Linked DNA regions of Homo sapiens: all the other regions are linked to region 2. The links are contacts of gene promoters, found by promoter capture Hi-C in blood cells and fetal thymus (Javierre and others, 2016). All regions are on one chromosome and are shown on one strand. The core of a region is centred on a gene start or on the middle of the fragment in contact, and the rest is flanking DNA. Distances in the headings are between cores, read along the strand shown.

The links. The method cuts DNA at HindIII sites, captures the fragments that hold promoters and counts their contacts. A CHiCAGO score of 5 or more calls a contact.
Region 1: a fragment that was not itself captured here is called in contact with the fragment with the promoter of TAX1BP3 in region 2 in 2 of 17 cell types (monocytes and fetal thymus); the score reaches 6.3 in monocytes.
Region 3: a contact is called between a fragment that was not itself captured here and the fragment with the promoter of TAX1BP3 in region 2, in 2 of 17 cell types (M1 macrophages and megakaryocytes). The highest score is 5.9, in M1 macrophages.

The regions. Positions count from the first base shown.
Region 1 is chr17:2,783,349-2,786,952 of GRCh38, forward strand. It overlaps a transcript of RAP1GAP2 not described here. Among named protein-coding and RNA genes, the nearest start is that of RAP1GAP2, 11 kb to the right of the region's middle. The HindIII fragment of the contact is 2,791 bases long and covers 304-3,094 here.
Region 2 is chr17:3,666,657-3,670,334 of GRCh38, forward strand. It overlaps TAX1BP3 (Tax1 binding protein 3), which reads right to left and starts at 1,922. Exons shown (of 4, transcript NM_014604.4): 1 at 1,832-1,922. The coding sequence starts at 1,870. EMC6 (ER membrane protein complex subunit 6) reads left to right here and starts at 2,156. Exons shown (of 2, transcript NM_031298.4): 1 at 2,156-2,243; 2 at 2,442-3,009. The coding sequence starts at 2,491. The coding sequence ends at 2,823. P2RX5-TAX1BP3 (P2RX5-TAX1BP3 readthrough (NMD candidate)) reads right to left here. Exons shown (of 15, transcript NR_037928.1): 12 at 2,402-3,678. RefSeq lists enhancers at 716-1,247, 1,248-1,778, 2,311-2,841, 2,842-3,372 and a silencer at 1,870-2,209. The HindIII fragment of the contact is 10,539 bases long and covers 730-3,678 here.
Region 3 is chr17:2,851,107-2,855,192 of GRCh38, forward strand. All of the region lies in intron 2 of RAP1GAP2 (RAP1 GTPase activating protein 2), which reads left to right. Among named protein-coding and RNA genes, the nearest start is that of RAP1GAP2, 57 kb to the left of the region's middle. The HindIII fragment of the contact is 3,571 bases long and covers 78-3,648 here.

The DNA of each region.
Region 1 (3,604 bases), core at 449-2,948, 880 kb before region 2:
AACCCCCTCTTCCCCACCTAGAGCAGGGACCTGTCTGTCTTGCTTACTAAAATATTCTTAGAACTGGAAGACAGCTTGGAACACAGTAGGGATGCAATAAACATTTGATGAATGAATGAATTAATGAATGAAGAGAGGACTGACTCCAGACCTAAGCTTGAAATCCCTCCTATATACTGTCTCTTACACAACAGGGACTGTTGCAGAGTGGCAGGAGCACAGGCTCTGGAGCCAGCTTGCTTGGTTCAAATTCTGGTCCTGCCAGTGTTCTGGTTATCTAATGCTGCTTAATAAACCACCCAAAGCTTATGGCTTAAAACACTGGTGACACTGATTTTGCCCATGAATCTGCAACATGGGCAGGGTTCAGTGGGGATAACGCTTCTCCACTCAGCATTGTCTGGAGTGTTTCAAGGTCTAGGGGCTGAAGCCATCTGAAGGCTTAGTCGCTCACACGTCTGGCGTTTCTTGCTGGCTGTTGGCTTTGGGTCAGTTCCTCTGCACATGGGCCTCTCTATGTGCTGTCTCCACATGCTAGATTGGGCTTCCTCCCAGCATGGTGGCTGAGCTAAGGGACAAGCATGCCCAGAAAGAGAGCCAGGTGGAAGCTATTTCACTTTTTATTTTATTTGTTTATTTATTGAGATGGAGTCTTGCTCTGTTGCCCAGGGTGGAATGCAGTGGCGCAATCTCGGCTCACTGCAACCTCTACCTCCCGGGTTTAAGTGATTCTCTTGTCTCAGCCTCCCAAGTAGCTGAGACTACAGGTCCATGCCACCACGCCAGGCTAATTTTTTGTATTTTTAGTAGAGACGAGGGTTTCACTGTGTTAGCCAGGATGGTCTCGAATTCCTGACCTTGTGATCTGTCCTCCTCGGCCTCCCAAAGTGCTGGGATTACAGGCGTGAGCCACCACGCCTGGCCTATTTTTATTTATTTAGAGACAGAGTCTCGCTCTGTCGCCCAGGCTGGAGTACAGTGGCGTGATCTCGGCTCACTGCGACCTCCATCTCCCGGACTCAAGCGATTCTCCTGCCTCAGCCTCCCAAATAGCTGGGACTACAGGTGCCTGCCATGACACCTGGCTAATTTTTGTATTTTTAGTAGAGACAGGGTCTTGCCATGTTAGCCAGGCTGGTCTTGAACTCCTGACCTCAAGTGATCCGCCCGACTCGGCATCCCAAAGTGCTGGGATTACAGGCGTGAGCCACCGCGCCCGGCCAGCAGTTTATTCTTTTAGCAGCAGCTACACTTTTGCTCACTGATCCCCTGGCCACAGGTGAGGCTTGGGTCTGTCCCCAGATCCCCGCCTACTCTCATGTAGTCCAGGAGGCATCTTACTGTGCAGAGCCCTGCTGAGGGTGGGGCCCGTAATGAGAGAAGGGGGAACTTGAATGGGAAAGGCCTTTTCTGTCCCAGTTTATTATCTCATTACAGGTCAGCCCTGCTCCCTTCAAGGGGCCTGGGACACATGTTGCTGATGGAGATACCATGAGGGTGGGGCTCAGGCAGAATTGCTCTGGGCTTGGGGCTGGGATGAACCCCACCAGACCCCCATCTTTATCCAGGAAAAATCAAGATGGTGAGGCCTGAACATGCTGTGTTTGAGCTGAGGGAGCTCTCCGCTTCTCCCTGTCCCTGCCGCCTGCTTCCACCTGAGTCACTGTTCATCTGCCTGCGGCATCATCCCCCTGCGGCATCATCCCCCTGCCTCGCTTGCTGGCCTCAGGGAGGAATCTCAGGGTTTGCTCCTTGTGGCCCAGGTTAGGGCTGCTCCTGAGCAGAGCGTTGGCAGGGGGCCCAGGAAGAATCTGGGGGTTTGCACGAGCCCAGCCTGGCAGTGTCTCCCATCTAACGCAGCCCTCATTTAGGGCCTGCTCTCCTCTGAGCCTTCCCTGAAGGAATGGCAGAAGGGCTCAAAGGGGGACTCTGGGTTTGAATTCTGTCACCTTCCAGCCCTGTTAAGGAAGGAGACCACTGCTCCTCCTGCTGCCCTCCTGCCCCCACCTTGCCTAGTTCACAAGATAGGAGGAGAGAAAAAGCAAAAAGTTGGAAAAAAAAAAAAAGTAAGATAAATAGCCAGACAACCTTGGCACCACCACCCGGCCCTAGGAGTTAAAAAAAGTGATAATTATAACATCAACCCCTGACCTAAACTACTTTTGTTATCTGTAAATTCCAGACACTGTATGAAAAAAGCATTGTGAAACTTTTTGTTCTGTTAGCTGATGCATGTAGCTCCCAGTCACATTTCCCACGCTTGCTTGATGTATCACGACCTTTTCACGTGGACCCCTTTAAGTTGTAAGCCTTTAAAAAGGCCAAGAATTTCTTTTTCGGGAAGCTCGGTTCTTAAGACGCGAGTCTGCCGATGCTCCCGGCCGAATAAAAACCTCTTCCTTCTTTAATCCGGTGTCTGAGGAGTTTTGTCTGTGGCTCGTCCTGCTACACTGTGACCTTGGACGAGTCTCTTAACCTCTCTGAGGCTCCAGTTACTTACCAGGAGGGAGACTGTGGTATGGTAAAGATGAAAGGAAGTAAAAAGTATGACTTTTTTTTTTTTTTTTTTTTAGACAGAGATTTGCTCTTGTTGCCCAGGCTGGAGTGCAGTGGTCAGATCTCGGCTCACCGCAACCTCCACCTCCCGGGTTCAAGCGATTCTCCTGCCTCAGCCTCCTGCGTAGCTGGGATTACAGGCATGTGCCACCATGCCTGGCTAATTTTGTATTTTTAGGAGAGACGGGGTTTCACCATGTTGGCCAGGCTGATCTCGAACTCCTGACCTCAGGTGATCCGTCCGCCTCGGCCTCCCACAGTGCTGGGATTACAGGCGTGAGCCACCGCGCCCAGCCTGGAGTTATTCTTTACAGATGAAAAACCTGAGGCAGAGGGAGTTTAAGTGGTTTCCTCACAGCTACATTTAATGTCAGGACTGGGGCTGGAATCCGTGTGTTCTGACACCAGGTGGTGGTTGCTTATCTTTTGCAGGAGGAGGATTTCCCCCTCCCTTCAACCCCTTCCGCCAGAGGGCAACATGGCTGCCATCCTAGAAACAAGCCCAGGAAGACGCTCCCTTTCCTCCTCGCACCACCCAAGCTTGCCTGCAGAGGGCGCAAACGCCCACCTTCTGGCCGGTCCTGGGAGGCGCCAGGTGCCCCGCCTTAGCAGGGGAGGGCGGGAGTGACCCAGCTGGGTGGGTGTGGGCAGAGTTGGCTGTGTGTTCTCCTTTAGTGAGAAGCTCCTTCAGACAGCCCCCACGGTCCAAGCCTTTCTTTTCTTTTTTTTTCTTCAATTTTTTTTTTTTTTAATGTTTTGCGATGGAGTCTCACTCTGTTGCCCAGGCTGGAGTGCAGTGGCGTGGTCTCGGGCTCACTGCACCCTCTGCCTCCCGGATTCAAGCGACTCTCCTGCCCCAGTCTCCTGAGTAGCTGGGATTACAGGCAGGTGCCACCATGCCCGGCTAATTTTTGTAGTGTTTAGTAGAGACGGGGTTTCACCATCTTGGCAGGGCTGGTCTCAAACTCCTGACCTCAAGTGATCCACCCACCTTGGCTTCCCAAACTGCTGGGATTACAGGCGTGAGCCATCGCTCCCAGCCTTTTTT
Region 2 (3,678 bases), core at 672-3,171:
CTGCCCAAACCCATCCCCAATCCAAGACTCGAGGGAGAGGCCAGACCATACACACCATGTCCAGGCACGTTCCTGGTGTTACCAGAATTAGGGGGCATGGGCCTGCAGTTTTGGGGAAGGCCCTGGGACCAGTTATGGCGTGAGGGAGGGGGGCAGGAAGCATGAGGCCTACTGTGCCTGGGTCCTCATGCCCCAAACTGAGCTCCTCCAGGCCTGCTCTGCCGGCACGGTCAGAAGATTACAGGCCCTTGGGTTGGGAGACAGGGCTGTCACTGATTTGCTGGGTGAGGTCACGCAGAAGGTGGCTTGCTGTAGCTCCTCACCTGTCCCTGCCCCCCTTCTACCTAAAGAGCAAACCTGGTGCCTTCTCTCTGGGGCAGGTAGGGATCTAAAAAAGCCAGGCTGGGCCGGGTGTGGTGCCTCACGCCTGTAATCCCAGCACTTTGGGAGGCTGAGGCAGGTGGATCACCAGAGGTCAGGAGTTCAAGACAAGCCTGGCCAACATGGTGAAACCCCGTTCTACTAAAAATACAAAAATTAGCTGGGCATGCTGGTGCATGCCTGTAATCCCAGCTACTCGGGAGGCTGAGGCAGGAGAATCGCTTGAACCCAGGAGGCGGAGGTTGCAATGAACCGAGATCGCGCCACTGTACTCCAGCCTGGGCGACAGAGCAAGACTGTCTCAAAAAAAAAAAAAAAAAAAAAGTCAAGCTGGTGCAGGGAGGGTGAAGCTTAGGACAGCTGTCAGCTGGTCCAGCAATGTTTCCTCCTGGCCCAGGCCTGAGCCAGTGCTCTAAGCTCAGCCTCACTTGTCGCCTTTATCAGTGGCTTCTCTGCCTCCACCCACCTGATTGCTGGAGCTTCTCCAGCACACCCAACTGAGATAACACACCCAGTCCCTATGGCTCCAGGGCGGGGACTTTCGCTTGACCTACTGCCCACCGGGCAGGCATTTCTTCTCATTCTCTGAACGCTGTCGGGAGGTAGGCAGGAGACCTGAGTCTTTCCTGAGGTGGTCTTTTCTGGCTGAGCACTTCTCTCTGGGACTCCCCACCTCTGTCATAGGGTTGTGTCCCTCTGTGACACCGGCGTCTGAGTCTAACGTCCCAGCCTTCCTTCCTCCCTCTGCCTAGTCTAATAGCACCCAGCACCTAAAACAAGCCAGAGGGCGGCCAGGGGCCTAGGCTAGCCCCCGGAGGGTCTACTCAGGACTCAAGTGCCAGGAGGGAGGCCTGGACTTTTTTGCCTTAAGGGCTGGAGACCCAGGAAAAGTTCGAAGAGGAAACGCTCATCGCAGCTATACGAGCGTCCACCCTGGACCAGGCGGCGAGTGGGTTGGAGGAGCAAGGCTGGACAGGAAGGGGGCAGGGGCTGCCACGGCAGGCTCGGGAGAGCCCCACCCCCAGATCTCCCTCCGGGCGGCGGCGCAGGCTGCAGCGGAGGAAGCATTTCCTCATTCCAGAGGCTGCGACTCATGGACGTCGGGATCGGCGCCCGCCCCCAGCAGCTCCCCGTCTGGGGACACGGAGGCCCGGGAAGGGGGCGCTTTTCCAGGCTCCTGCAGCCAGGCCTTTCCCCGTGGCCCTCCCCGCCCTGCGCACGCAGTCTGGGCTCTGTCCAGGGTCTCGGGAGGCTCTCGGGTCCCGGCCATCCCTGTTTCGTGGCTGGGGGAACTGCGGCCCGCTCCGGCAAAGCGGGGACCCGAGCCCTTGCCGCCGGTTCGCAGGAGCCCCGGGTTCGATGCTCTGTCAACCTGCTTGGGGTGTCCGTTTCCCGCTCTGCGAGGTGGGGTCAGGCCAAGACGAGGAGGAGCCCGCGCAAGCGCACTCACCACCACGGCGGTGACCGGCTGGCCCGGGATGTAGGACATCTCGACCCTGCTCTGGTCGCCCAGCGCCGCTCCGAGAAGCCGGCAGCAGAGTACCCGCGGTCGCGCCCTCGCTGCTTAACAAAGGCCGCCCCGCTCGGCCCGCCCCCTCATGAATAGTTAACAAACCTCCAGCCAATCACTGGCCGGAGCGCCACTCCGCTTTCGGAAGTCCCTGCGCGTGCGCAGAAAAGCGGGCAGAGGGCGGAGCGTGTCCGGGGCGCCCACGGCGCAGGCGCGGAGGGCGGGGCGGGATCTGGGCGCGTGCGCAGCCCGAGACCTCCCGGCAGTCTTCCGAGCAAGATGGCGCCGCGGGCATTTCTTCCACTGCCCGTCTGAGGGAACGCTAAGTAGTGTGTCCGGCGCCGTGTTCCAGGTAACTGGGCCACCGTGGCCGGGGAACGCAGACGCGCCACCACCTCCCGGCCGGCCCGGACCCTCAATCTCCTCGGCGTCTTTGGAAGATCCGAGGCCCAGGACTGGTGCCAGGTCTCGGAAGCTCCAGGGGGAGGGGGCGGCGTGAACCCAACTCACCGAGCTCCGGGCGCCACTTGTAACTTGGTTTTCTCCGCAGCTCCGCGTTGTTCCGCGAGAAAGCGAGAGGCCGAGCCCGGGCTGGTGCGATGGCCGCGGTGGTGGCCAAGCGGGAAGGGCCGCCGTTCATCAGCGAGGCGGCCGTGCGGGGCAACGCCGCCGTCCTGGATTATTGCCGGACCTCGGTGTCAGCGCTGTCGGGGGCCACGGCCGGCATCCTCGGCCTCACCGGCCTCTACGGCTTCATCTTCTACCTGCTCGCCTCCGTCCTGCTCTCCCTGCTCCTCATTCTCAAGGCGGGAAGGAGGTGGAACAAATATTTCAAATCACGGAGACCTCTCTTTACAGGAGGCCTCATCGGGGGCCTCTTCACCTACGTCCTGTTCTGGACGTTCCTCTACGGCATGGTGCACGTCTACTGAAATGGGGGCCCGGGGGACTTTTTTAAAAAACCAGATCGGGAGGACTGTGGCCAGCAATTAACACCATGTAGACTTCCTTAGTTCTTAAGTGGTTGAATTCGCTGCTTGTTCTGTAACGTTATAAATAATTTATATCTGAAGACGGAGAGCCTGTAATATTCTTCAGATTAAATGAAGCGTGAGACACTTTGTGGAGTTCTTTCCTGCTGTAACGCTTAGGCTGCCACTGATGCAAAATCGCCGAGATTTGACTCCTGGAGAGCAAGGAATGGGCCATAGCCTTGTGTTAAGTCCTTGTATTTACACATAGGCCATTCAGAAACGGGCCCTAAGGGCCTACATAAGGAAAGAACTTATTAACATCCTAAGAAGCAGTAACAGTTAATATGTATTAAGAGCTCCCTGGGCCGGGCACGGTGGCTCATGTCTGTAATCCCAGCACTTTGGGAGGCCGAGGTGGGCGGATCACCTGAGGTCAGGAGTTCAAGACCAACCTGGCCAACATGGCAAAACTCCGTCTCTACTAAAAATATAAATATTAGCCGGGTGTGGTGGCGCGCGCCTGCAATGCCAGGTACTCGGGAGGCTGAGGAAAGAGAATCGCTTGAACCCTGGAGGCAGAGGTTGCAGCGAGCCGAGATCGTGCCACTGCATTCCAGCCTGGGTGATGGAGCAAGACTCCGTCTGTCTCTCAGGGAAAAAAAAAAAAAAAAGAGTTCCCTATATGCTGGCATTGTGACTTCTACTCTACACCGATCCTCTCATTTAATTTTAGCAATAACCTTACAGGGTAGATGTTATTGTTAGCTCCCTCGTAAGGAACCTGAGGCTCAGAGAGGTTAAATACTTCTCCCA
Region 3 (4,086 bases), core at 613-3,112, 820 kb before region 2:
AAAATTATAAACAGCAGAGCAGCATGACACTAAGACAAAGAATTATGAAGGAGGTGGCGTGTGGCCCAATTGTGGGAAGCTTTGGCTGGGCTAACTGCACACACTGGCTGGAAATGGTCTTCTTTTGAGGTTTGGAGTGTGTTAACCCTGTTTGTTTCGGGCAGGGATGGTCTTCCATTTTTCTTTCTTGCCCTGGTCTCTTGCATAAAGCTGGACATACTGTACATGTTTAATAAATGCTGGTGGAATGGGTAAGCCTAGCATTGATGGTTGTTCCAGTCTCTGCTATTGATGGGTTTTCTTGTGCTTTGGGGTCCCCTCTGTGGGGTGTGGGTGTGATGGGCTGTGGGGGCTGGAGTGGGAGTTAAGAGGGGAAATTGCTGTTTATGCACCAAAGGTGGCGAGCTTGTAGGGCAGGGGCAGAAGGATGGGACCTCTCACTGCCAGGAAAATTCTACCTCTTAGAGACTCAGGAGTCAGGGGCTGAGAGGTTACGATTTTTTGGGGGACAGCCTTGTGTTTGCAGTGACACTGGGCTTGTAGAAGGACTTAGAGGGCTGGGAACCCCAGAATAAGAGAATGAATAATGGAACCTGCATGGTGGATTTTGTGCCTTCATCATCCCAATTCCCTGTTGTAGTTGTTTGGAGAGGTGGGGTCTCACTATGTTGCCCAGGCTGGTCTAGAACTCCTGGTCTCAACTCAAGTGATCCACCTGCCTGCCTCGGCCTTCCAAAGTGCTGGGATTACAGGTGTGAGCCACCCTGTTACCCACTGTGCACTTGACCTGAACTAGCTCCCACACTCTCACCTGCTGGGAAGGAGGATCAGGCCTTCCGTTGAGGTGCAGCCTTCTGTGTGTGGGTAAAATACACCCAACGCTAGGATAGACCTAAGCCAGCGCCCTCATCACCTTCCCTGCCATCTAACTGAAGCGGTCCATCAGCTAACCTGTGGGTCCTCGGGTGCTGTGTGCTATAGCGCGGTGGGAGAGAGGGGAAGAGAAGCTCTGGGTTGCATGCTGCTGGGAGCTCTTCCCTTTTCTCTACCAAGGACACTCATTTTATTCTTTTTCCAGACCAATTCTTAAGTCACTACTGGCATAGTACTTGCAGCCTGCCTAACCGCCAATCTCAGGAGTGGGGCCCGGGTCATTCAAATCTCTAGCTATAAAAAGATGTCCATGGCTATCTATATCTCTGATCCCCCACAACCCCGGCAGGGAGGGGGTGGGGGTGGGGGTGGGGGGCACAAGGCCAGTGGTAACGGCTGCTTCATAAATAGACCAGGTGCATTTAAGAACCACCCTGGGGCTTCCTCCCCTCCACCCCAACTCCAGTGCCAGCAGGAAGCTGTGGGCATTGGAGAGGCAGGGCTGAAGCCTCAGGCCCTCGAATTCGTTTGCAGTCCCTCTCCCCTCTCCACCCAGCATGGTCCCCTCCCTGCCTGGATTTTCTGTGTTTGCTTGAACACCAGACTATTAAAAACAAAACAAAAAACAAAACAACAACAAAAAACAAGGCAAATTGCCTCAGGGGGAACCTCTTCGGCCCCAAAGATGGACTAATTGGCTTGTTCTAATTCCTTTCAGCCCCCTGCCCACTTCCTTTTCCCTAGAGGGGCAAAGCTGTGAGTGATGCTTCGGAGGGGTGAGGCGGGAGGGGGCTGGGAGGCTGGGCAGCACCTGGAAGTGGATGAGGGCGATTGTGAGCGAGGCCCCGCGCCGATGGTAGGGACCAGGCCACAGCCCTTTCCCCAGGAGCCGGCGCGACCTTCCGACCTTCCGACCTTCCGCCCTTCCTTTCCGAAGGAGATGAGGCTCGCGCGCGGCTGGCAGGGGCGGGAGGGACCACGCGACGAGTGCGCAGCGGCCAGGCCCGGGTGGGCGCGGGGAGGGCGGAGTGGGGGGCGCCCGGCCCGCCAGGAGGAAGCGGGGTCGCCGTGAAGTTGGTTATTGAACCCATGTGGAGTCAAACTCCCAGGGCCGGGAGAGCCAGTGTTCGCGGGGAGCCGACCCCAGCCCACTCTGCATCCCAGCTCGGCGATCCTTGCGCCGACTCTGCGGGGAGGCGGGGGCAGAATTCCGCCTCGTTCCTCCCATCCGCAAGCTCCCACCCGGGGACCCGGGCCCGGGAGCTGCGAGCCGGGGCGGGCGCCGGGCTCAGGTGCCCCCTGTAAGCGCTGGGCGGCCGGGAGGGGACGGGGACCGCGCGCGGGCAGTTTCGTTTGGACGGAGGAGGACGCGCGTTTCCTCTTGGTGCCTGTTTTCTCTCCCTCTGTTTTAAAAGCAGTGACAGCATCGGGGAAGTATCCGGGGCCGGGCCGGGGAGGGCGGCAGCCGCCTCTGCCTGGGGAGGGAGCTCGGGGCCGCCGGCGGGAGTGCGGGCGGGGACCAGAAGGAGCGGGCGAGGGGAGGCAGGGCCGGGGCCGGGGAGGGCGCCTGGGAGCCGGGCAGGGGGGTCCCGGGAGCGCTGTCCGCCTCCTCCTGCGCTTCGCCCGCTCCCTGTGCCCCGCGTCCTCCACCATCCGGGCGGCCGAGGCCGGGGCGCGGGAGGCGGGGCCGGGGCGGGTCCCGGCGCGGGCGGCGCGTCTGAGCGGGAGCCGGGAGCCGCCGGCCCGGGCCGCGCCCCGAGCGAGCCTCGGAAATGCCCGCGCCGGGGGAGCGGACGGCGGCTGCCCCGCGGGCCCCGAGGAGACGCTGAAGGTCGCCGGGAGGGAGGGGAGAGCGCGCGGTCACCTGACCCCCGGGGCGCACCTAGGCGGGGCGGGGCCCATGCGAGGCGGAGGCCGGGGGCCGGGGCGCGGGCTCAGGGGCCGGGTGCGGAGCGCGCGGAGCCGGGGCTGCGGGGACGCGGGCGGGCGAGGTCGGGCACCGCGGGCGGCCTCGCCATGTCCCAGCCCGCGGGGAGGAGGCATTGCCGAAAGGCGGGGATCCGCGCCGCCGTGGTGCTCATCGGACTCCTGCACAAATCCCGGAGGCAGAATAAAGAGAAAAGGTAAACCCCTGCAGCGCCGGCCGCTTCCCTCCGCTCTCCTGCTGCATGCCAGTTTTCTTTGGGGTGGACTTTTCCGATGGGTGTTTGGTTCCGTGTTGGTTAGAAAAAAGCCTCCTCTCCAGGTACCGTCGTGCGAACCGAGTTCGGAGCTTCGCCCCGGACCCTGGCTGGTGCGAGGAGCCTGGGCAGGACCTTGGCGGAATCGGAGGGCCGCTGGGAGGGCGCATCGGGGTGGATCCCTGACGGAGGGACCCCAAGTCCGTCGCCCCCAGACCCTTTGCAGACCGCGACCCCGTTCCCCAAGCCTGCAGCCGCGGATGCCATTGATCCAGCCCAGGCGGCTCCATGCGCCGGTGTTGCCATTTGCTTCCTGCAACTTGGCTGAGCCCTCGAGGTGCCTGCCTGGCCGAGATCCGCTTGCTCTGCGCTCGGTGCCGGCAGGCGAGGAGCAAGTTTGGAGGTTGTTCGCTCCCCACCCACCCTCTCGCCCCACCGCCATAGGGTGACTTTGCCTCTTCGCCTTTCTGGCGTTTGTTCTTTCGTTTGCTCCTGGATATTGAAAATAGTTTTCTTTAGCTATTTCAGAGACATTTTGGACGACCTGTGTGGTGGGAGGTGTGGGGTTTGGAGTAGGCAAAGGAGGTTCTGAGGAAGCTTTCTAGGCTGCAACCGCAGCTGCAGGTCTGACATCCACCAGACCCCAAGGAGCTACCAGGCAGGTCGTTGGCACAAAGCCTCCCTGTTCTGCTAGGGTGCATGGCAGAGCCTCCAGCAATGGGGGGAGGGGAGTGCGGAAGCTGACTGCCCACAGAGATGTTGCCGGGATCAGGATTTGGGGTAGCTTCCAGTGACCCTGCTGGATCCTAGTTTCCAGAGGAGTTTTGGAATGGTTAATACCGCACCCTATAAGACACGGGCAGTGGAACCAGAGACACCTGGGGGTGACCAGCAGCCCCTGGATATGCCCACAGGTATGAACGTACCTGGGGTGGTGGTAGGCAGGGAATACGGGGGACTTTGAGAAGCTGGCATGGATTGCCCTTGTGGTGGGTTGTCCCCCATTCCTCTCGTCCCCCCTTCCTATAATGTG